Linked DNA regions of Homo sapiens: all the other regions are linked to region 2. Evidence: promoter capture Hi-C in 16 types of primary human blood cells and fetal thymus (Javierre and others, 2016). All regions are on one chromosome and are shown on one strand. The core of a region is centred on a gene start or on the middle of the fragment in contact, and the rest is flanking DNA. Distances in the headings are between cores, read along the strand shown. Region 1 overlaps KCTD16 (potassium channel tetramerization domain containing 16). Region 2 holds the start of TCERG1 (transcription elongation regulator 1). Region 3 overlaps KCTD16 (potassium channel tetramerization domain containing 16).

Region 1 (2,750 bases), core at 243-2,742, 2.3 Mb after region 2:
TCTACATGCTAGCAGGGATCTTTTCATTTGGTCAGGTCCGAGAGAAATAAGCTGACTGCGAAAACCACCCTCTCTTAACCCACTACTACAAAGAGGTATTCATGTCTTCGATGTGGGGTCAAATTGGAATGGAAAAAAAGAGAAACCTTTAAAAGAAACACTCCTGAAAGAGTAAGAGATCAGAGTTTCCAGTTTCAAAATTTCACTGACACCAGTTTCTTAAAAGATTCATGTCTGTGCCTGTGGCCAAACAAATTAATAAAATTAACTGACCCAATTGCCAGGCAATTCCACATACATTTTCTATCTTAATTCCTAAAACAATCCTGAAATGTTAGCATTGTGGGGAGAATAAAAGAGCCTCCAAGAGGTTAAGTAACCAGCAGCGGATCACACCAAACCTGTCTGATTCCGAGGTCCTTTTTCACTACACCCAAATTATTTGGGCATATAGTTTCTTTTATTAAATATGCTCACTGTGTACCCAATGGTTTGGCATCACAAAGAACACCAACACAATCCAGCATAGATCACCACTATATCCCCAATCGCAGTTCAGTGCCAGGCTCAGAGTAAGCACTCTATATATATTTGTCAAAGGGTTGTGAGAATGAACAAGCAAATGAATGAATGAAAGAATAAACCACCAATTAGGCCAGTGGTATCCAGAAGTTTCATCTGGATATAACAAGCATGTGATCTAAGAGTGTAGCATATCTAATTTTCTTTACTCCTGAAATGTTGTTTCCAAATGTGAAAAGTGAAATGTTTATGAATAGAGCATCAGAGAACTGACCCTTCATGAATCCAAAAGGATAAGTAATATATATGTTTATGTTCCAGAATTTAAAAGCTTATAGAAATAAGACATTGCTTTTAGGATAAAAGTTTACATCAGAACTATAAAATTCTAGTTTTTATTTTTTAAAAAGTGCTTATATGCTTGAAAAATATGATTTACTGAAAAAGTATTTTGTCAAGGTACCAGACAATTATAATCCAACTATTTTATGCATCAGTTACTCTGCATTCTTTCCAAACATGTGTGTAGGATGGGTTATGGAGTTAGAATGCCTGATAATGATTGACCTACATAGACACACATACCGGGCACAAGATTTAAAGGGCCAAAGTACATAATTCAAATATGAGGTAGGAAACATCACCTTTTTTGCTGTACAACGCAGATTTGCACAGCTGCTGCCAAGGAAATTGCATGTTACCTTTACAGACAATGATCTGAGCCTCAAGCACATCTCACAATTACCCTAGGGGTCTCTCAAAATGACAGGCTGGTACTATTGCAATGTGCAGTTCCAATAGCTGCCAGAGGACATCAGACAATTGTTTGAAATGGAGCCAGTGTTGTATATCTTCCTGATAAATCTGGTTGCCATTCATCAGGAAAAAGAATGCCTATGAACAAATGGAGTGACACAAAAAAAGATTTATGTATCTGATAGAACCTGGATTCAACCTGGTGTCCCTTGAACAATCTCTTGAATTTTTCATATATTTAAATGAGGTCTTGAGAGTAGTTACATACATCTGTGTTGTTGATGTGCCATAATACAGGACATAGAAGCTGCAATTACTCCTGGATAGGACATATAATACAATTATAAATTAAGATTAAAAATTAGATGAAAGGGCTAGGGATGGAGAAATAATAAATGTTTTATTTGCCCCAAAGACAGTAATAAAATACCTTCCTTTTATTGCCATTTGGTCCGAGGTCATTTATACCTATAAGGGTAAAGAAAGAAAAAGTAACTGCCCAATGGAAGTGACTGATGGAGTTTTATTATTGTGAGGCACTGACAATAATAAAAGTGCTTCACAATAGTAAAAACTCGCTTCCCTCCAAAAAAATAAGATCACCTGCAGAGCCACTGGCCAATCAGAGCCGACATAGAGTCCTTCCCTAGAGCCCCACATAGTAATGACAGCTAAGATTGCTGGAGTCCAGCAAAATACGTTTTGAGCTCCTTTAAAATGTTTTGGCCATGTCTCTTATTATCATTCATTTACTCAAATATTTATGTGTATCTATTTGTACAAGGAACTATGTTAGGCTTTGTAGAGAATGTAATAGTGAATCAAACATGAGTGTTACCTTCACTAAGCTTATAATCCAATAGGGGAAAACACTCTGTGTCTGACTTGGAGACAACTGGCACACAGGAGAAAGTGATGACTGCTGTTAAGAGAAGAGGAAAAAGTTCTATGAGAGCAACAGAGCAACCAAAAGCAAAGTCATTTTTTGAAACTCTAAGAAACATCATGCCTAGAACAAAGTGCCCATTAATAAATTATTGATGAACTAAAGAAAGTGCCACTTTGCATTACTATACATTTACTCGGTATGAAATCAGAGAGGCACTCATTTAGAATTCATTTAGAGCTGTTCCAGACAGGGCTGATTCATTAGAGTGCTGATGATCTCAGAAATATTTTATATGTGTATATAAATGTAAGTCCGTTGCAGCACTCTACCGTACAGCTAATCTGTATTTGGTTCTCAGCCAGTGAAGACTAAGAGCCATTTGAGTGGCCCTTCCCTCTCCATTTGTTGACTCCACCAGCTCCCTCTTTCTGTGGTTCCTTGTGTGCCAGTGAACACTGAAGCTCAAGATGGCTGACAAAAGGTGACCAAGCAACGGTGCTGGAGATTCTGCAAAAATCATGAAAGGTGCTGGATGGTAGCAAGCAGGCTGCACTGCAACAACCTCAGATGCCCCCAAGGAGGT
Region 2 (3,058 bases), core at 407-2,906:
AGCTCTATTCAAATCAGTTGTGCAACAGTGTCTAGACTATTAATAAAGCCATTTGGATTTTTTTAAAGCTTTAGAAAGATACTTTCTAAAATGCAAAAGAATGTTCCCTAATAAATCCATCTGAAACTAGCTAAGTAACCTCCCTTTAAGATCGAAATCAGGAATAAACTTGGCATCGCTAATATTTAAAGATGCTGACAATTCACCTTGATCACTCATTAATACTGTATACATATGGAGTTTAAAGGATTTCAGATTCATCTCTGAAATAAAACAAAATTTCATTTCTGCCAAAGTGGAGATTTGTGTGTGCGACCATACAGAATCTGAAAGGCATTTTCCTCTTCTAAAACCTTGAATAACAATACCCATTTCCTTACACAATTTCATCTTAAGTTCAAGACAGTATCAACAGAGTCTTCATAATCTACCCTGCTCTTTTTCATTTTCAAACGTTGACAACAGCACAATTCAGAATGGGAGCTGAACATCTGAAATGCCATTTCTCCCATACAGAAAAAAACCAAAGTACCAAATACACATAAAGCATAATACCTCTTTTCCTCAAAAACCACTGACCAAAAGATTTCTCCAGGTCACTCTCATTTTACCAAATTTTAATTACAAACTCATAGACACTGAGGTTCCAGGGGAAAAAAAGGTCACTGCACTGTTCAAGGAAATGGCATGAGTAGTAGACGAATAGAACGCCAATTGGGATTGCAGGCTCTGAAACCTGACTGCCTGAGTTCAAGCCACTTCCTGGAGCCACAAATCCGCCTATGCAATCTTATTCTACTGACTCAACCTCCACGAGGCTGTTATCTCACCTGTAAGATGGGCGAGTAACAACTGAAGACCCCTCTGGTCTGTGGCCTGCAAAATGTTAATAGCAACTACTCCAAAGGGTGGTTGTGAGGATTAAATGAGACAAACCTAAGTAAAGGGTTTACTGGCACACGGTAAGTGCCTAATAAGGGGTTGCTACTGTTGTTGTTACTCACAACTACAGGATAATAAGGAATAAAGGGATGAAAAAAGGAAGAAAAGCCACAGAAGTTAAGAAAGGCAAGCAATGAGGGGGATGAAATGAAAGGGCAAACGTGGGGAGCCCAAAGAGCCGCGGAGGGCGTGGAGAAGGCTTAGCCAGAAGTGGCGAGGGGTACAGGGAAAGTAACTGCGGAGTGCAGAGACGTCGATGAGGAAAATCAGGCCCGCAGCGGAGCGCGGCCTGGGGACAGACTCAGGTCGGCCGAGACGGAGGCGACACGCGGCTGAGGCGGGGCCCAAAGGCGGGAGCACCGCGCCCGGCCAGAGGGCTGCAGGCCGCGAGAGGCGGCGAGGCCCCAAGAAAGCACTAGGAAGCAGCCAGGGAACGCGCAGGAGGCCCTGGCCCAGCCCGGGCCCGGCTCTCATTCAAGCCACCTTCCCCTTCCCCCTTCTTAAACCCCATGCGGTCCCGGCCCGGGCCGCCCGGCTCCGCTACCCACCGTCCGCCCCGGATCTCCACATGGCAGGTCTAGCGTCTAGCCTCTGGGGCTCTCGTGAGCAGAGATGTGAAGGAGGGCAGCGTTCCTTACCTGAGCTCCCCCGGGTTGAATCGTTCACTCTCGCCCCCGTCCCCGCCACGCTCCGCCATTACAGAGGGCCGCGTTCATCCACCCGCCGACCCGACGTCTCCTATTGGCTAGAAAAATCGTCAATCCCCAACGAGAGAGGCGGAGACAGCAGAAGTCTGAGATGCGGTTGGTCAAACTTTCCATCAATCTTCGAAATGGGGGCGATATGTTCTTTGCTATTGGGCAAGGCGCCCGCCGACTTTGAAAGCGGTATGAAGACAGCCAGTTGATTGGTGACTCGGGGGCTTTATGGGAAATGAGATTTTAGCAGTGAGGAACCGCCGGCGCCCTCTCGCGGTAAGCAGAACTAAGTCCTCCCAAGTTCGGCTCAGCCTGCGGTAGCCACGTGTCTGTCGGCTTCCAGGAGAGCCAATTGTGGAGCCATATTGGCCAGTAGTAGCTCAGGCGGAGAGCATTTCCACTGGGCAAGCCAATCAAAATCGACCTGGGCCGCGCCTAAACCGATTGCACAGTTGCTGTGGAAAGCCGCTATTTCCTAGCTTTACAGTAGCAGGAGTCTTAAGTCACCACTCAGCTCTATATCCATGTTATTAAATAATATATTATTAATTACAAGAATACCTCCCAAATTATACTAAACCGTTGCAAGCCAATAGGTGTTATAAGTTGCTGCATTAAGAAAGGTAAATTGGCGAAGGCAAGCCTCTTTGCAATTTACAGCTTAACCACGTCTCCCTCGATCTCAAAATGTGCTTGTCTGAAATTAGCACACCCAGAATACCAGACAATTCTGAATATTTATTTAGTTTTTCTAATTAACAAAAAAAAAAGTTTTGGATTTGGGGTTTCAAAGGCACAATGAAGATGAGCCCTTTTATTAAAGTCGTAAAAATATTAAAATAATACTAATAGATAAATTTTACTTGGACCTAACCATGTAGCAAACCCGGATCTAAGTATGTCAGGTACGTTAACTCTTTTAAGATTCAAAAATTGCTAGGAGGTGGGTAACATAGTCACTGTTTGTAGATGAGCTTGAGGCACAGAGAAGTTAAGTAACTTGCCCAAGGTCACACATCTACTAAATAGCAGAGCCTGGTCTTAACCCCAGTCAGCGTAGTAGCAAAGCAGCACTCTTAAATACTGTAAGCCTAAATAATTGGATCCACATAAAAACATGTGCACAAATGTTCACAGCAGCAATATTCATAATAGCCAAAAAGTATTGTAACAACCCAATGACCATCAGCTGATGCATGGTTAAGAAGCATGGTATAGGCCGGGCGCGGTGGCCCAAACCTGTAATCCCAGCACTTTGGGAGGCCTAGACGGGCGGATCACGAGGTCAGGAGATCAAGACCATCCTGGCTCACACGGTGAAACCCTGTCTCTACTAAAAACAAATAGCCCGGCGTGGTGGCGGGCGCCTGTAGTCCCAGCTACTCGGGAGGCTGTGGCAGGAGAATGGCGTGAACCCC
Region 3 (2,862 bases), core at 66-2,565, 2.2 Mb after region 2:
GTCACTCCTTAGAAATCTCATCATATTTGCAGCAAGGAGGATAGATCCAAAGGGGAAAATACTGGATGCGGGAGGGGGAGAACAATTTAAGCTCATTTGCAATAGTATAGAAAAGCAATAAAGGAATGCTCATGGCCTTTCCATCAGCGGAGATGGAAAGAAGAGGACGGACCTGAGGGAGATGAAGGAGAAGAACCAACAGGACTTGTTGGAGATTGGAGAAAGTGGGGAGAAGAAAGAATCAGGAATGTCACCTATGTTTTATTCCTCCTTGGGCAACTAAGTGACTAACAATGCCATTTAGAGAAGAAGCTTGGGAAACACAAATGGTTAAGTTCAGTGGAGTTTCAGCACAATTGAAAAAATACAAAGATACTCAAATGTAAAATCAGAATAGCCAGAAGGCAAACTTTTCTACCCAAAATGATTCTCATAGTCAACAGGGCCCACTGCACATCTTGGTAAGCTCAGCAGGCTACCACTGCAGCACCTGAATGGTAGCCTAATCTAATGACAAGAATGGAAGTGCAATACTAGACCTTGAATGACTGGAGAGAAAATAAGGGACCTCTTTGAATGCCTGCTTTGTCATCAGAATCAACTTGAACAATGGAGAGAATACACCCAATAGCTATTGATTCAGATGATAAATATGTAAAAGCTAACAATAAAAACATGCCCTTACCTTGCCTCCATAACATATAGCATTTCAATCCTCCAATGCAAATTGTAAAATGAACTTGCTGTCACCTGTGAAAACTTGTCAGAAATACTGAGTGAATTTGATTAGGCCTCTAAAATCTGGAGTCTAGATCTAACGAGCTTACCAAAAACATAAGGATTGAGGAGGGTGTGTTCATAATATCACGGAGATCATAGAGATGGATGAGCAAAACCCAGAATGCAAGATATTCAACATGACAACTTGATTTCATGAAACAAGTAAGTTGTAAAAAAGAGGAGAAAGAAAAAGAAAGAGAGAGAGAAAAAAAGAAAGAGAGAGAAAGAAAGAAAGAAAGAGAAAGAAGGGAAGGGAAGGGAAAAGAGAGAGAGAAAAGGGAATAGAGCAAGAGAAAGAAAGGGAGGAATTAAAAGAGATGTAAGATGGACATTTTACCACTTTGTTGCATATAAGTTATATGCAATATTTTTTAAATGATGAGAGAAAAGAAAATTAGCAAACAAATATAATATAATATGTAGATTTCATTTGCATCTTGATTCAAACCAACTTTTAAAACATTGTGAAGAAATCAGGAAACTTTAAACACTGACTAGATATTTGATAATATTAAAGAATTATTAATTTTGTATGTTATAATGGTATATGGTAGAATACCATATAATGATGTTATGTTGCTTTTAAAAATAATTTATATTTTAGAAATATATACCATAGCATTTGTGGATAAAGAAATGAATTGATGTCTGGGATTTGCTTCAAAATAATCCAGCATCGACAAAAGGGAAAGTAAGTAGGAATATGGATGAAACAAGATTGATCTTGCTGTGCTAAGGGTAATTATTAGAGATGGGTGATGGTTACATGAAAGTTCATTATGCCATTATCTCTACATTTGGATACATTTCAAAATTTCTGTAATAAAAAAAAATTAACTGATTTGCCAAGAAACACAATACTTGAGAAAAGCCATCGCAGAGGCAAAAGAAAAAGAGCAACAGTGCGTTATGATGCAGAAACTGAGCATTCATCTATCCATTTCTGGAAGACTTCTTTCTATGCATGGGACTGGCACTCATCCTATGCGTAGTCGCTCCTTTCCGTGTTTTGTGTTTGGAGGTGTTCCAGATGGAGCTTTGTGGCACATTCTCAGCTACTTCCATTTCTAATTTCTTTGATTAGATACAACCTCATTAGGCTGTTAGAAATATTTGGTCTTCTCTTTCCAATCATATATATTTTAATGTATCAGAACACTTGGGGGCAACTTCAGAGACCTCTCCTTTTCACCCATACATTGACACAATTCTTGCTGCCAAATACCTTCCCTGATGCCACAGACCCAGGAAGAAACTATTTTAATCTTCTCCTACAAGGGACTGGGCTCAGGTAACAGCTCTTGCTTGGCATAGAAGTGAAAACAGTATAATAAAATACTTCACTAACATGCTTAAATCACTGTTCTATTAAGCCCAATTCTCAGTGCACAGCATCTTAAAGAAATAAGAAAAATTATGCCTGCTGCTTCTGCCCTTTATTATCCAATATCTGCCTGAGCATGGGTCTAAACTGACTTCATAATGAAGCCTTATACTTAAACTGCGGTTTGTTTTTCATCAGAAATTAAGAAGCTTCAAATCTTAAGAACACTTTCTTCAAGGTAAAAGGATGCCTGATCCACAACTATTAAAAGTGCTCTTATGTACAAATACCCCTGGGGAAGGTAACATCATGCCTTGAAAGCATTCTAAATATAATGACAGAGCAGAATTTTTCCTGATGAGCTTTGATTATGGCATGGGAGAAAGAACTGGAGAGCAGACATGACTCAAACAGAAGGAAAGAGGAGCAGCTAAGGTGAGACAACAGAAGGAAGTCACAGAGAGAGATGCTGGTAGTGTAAGGACCAAACATCACATACCTTATGATTTTGGCCACTCTGCTATCCCTGATGTTTCACTTTGAATGTGCCAATACCATATCTCTATAGGTAATAAAAATTGAAATTATTACAGGTTGAATATCCCTTACTCAAAATGCCTGAACTGGACATGTTTCAGATTTTGGATTTTTTCAGATTTTATGATATTTGCATATATGTAATGACATATCTTAGGGCTAAGACTCAAGTTTGAACATGCAATTCATTTATGTTTTATATGCACATTATACACATAGCC

Evidence for each region. Contacts are between HindIII fragments. The CHiCAGO score rates a contact against its expected background, and 5 or more counts as called.
Region 1: a fragment that was not itself captured here is called in contact with the fragment with the promoter of TCERG1 in region 2 in 9 of 17 cell types (total B cells, total CD4 T cells, naive B cells and 6 more); the score reaches 26.1 in total B cells.
Region 3: a contact is called between a fragment that was not itself captured here and the fragment with the promoter of TCERG1 in region 2, in 1 of 17 cell types (naive CD8 T cells). The highest score is 7.8, in naive CD8 T cells.

Annotation. Positions count from the first base shown.
Region 1 is chr5:144,195,375-144,198,124 of GRCh38, reverse strand. The region is part of intron 2 of KCTD16 (potassium channel tetramerization domain containing 16); the gene reads right to left. Among named protein-coding and RNA genes, the nearest start is that of KCTD16, 26 kb to the right of the region's middle. The HindIII fragment of the contact is 1,273 bases long and covers 856-2,128 here.
Region 2 is chr5:146,445,931-146,448,988 of GRCh38, reverse strand. It overlaps TCERG1 (transcription elongation regulator 1), which reads right to left and starts at 1,656. Exons shown (of 23, transcript NM_001382548.1): 1 at 1,581-1,656. The coding sequence starts at 1,639. RefSeq lists a silencer at 1,288-1,367 and an enhancer at 1,286-1,993. The HindIII fragment of the contact is 4,342 bases long and covers 71-3,058 here.
Region 3 is chr5:144,211,536-144,214,397 of GRCh38, reverse strand. All of the region lies in intron 3 of KCTD16 (potassium channel tetramerization domain containing 16), which reads right to left. Among named protein-coding and RNA genes, the nearest start is that of KCTD16, 42 kb to the right of the region's middle. The HindIII fragment of the contact is 2,001 bases long and covers 315-2,315 here.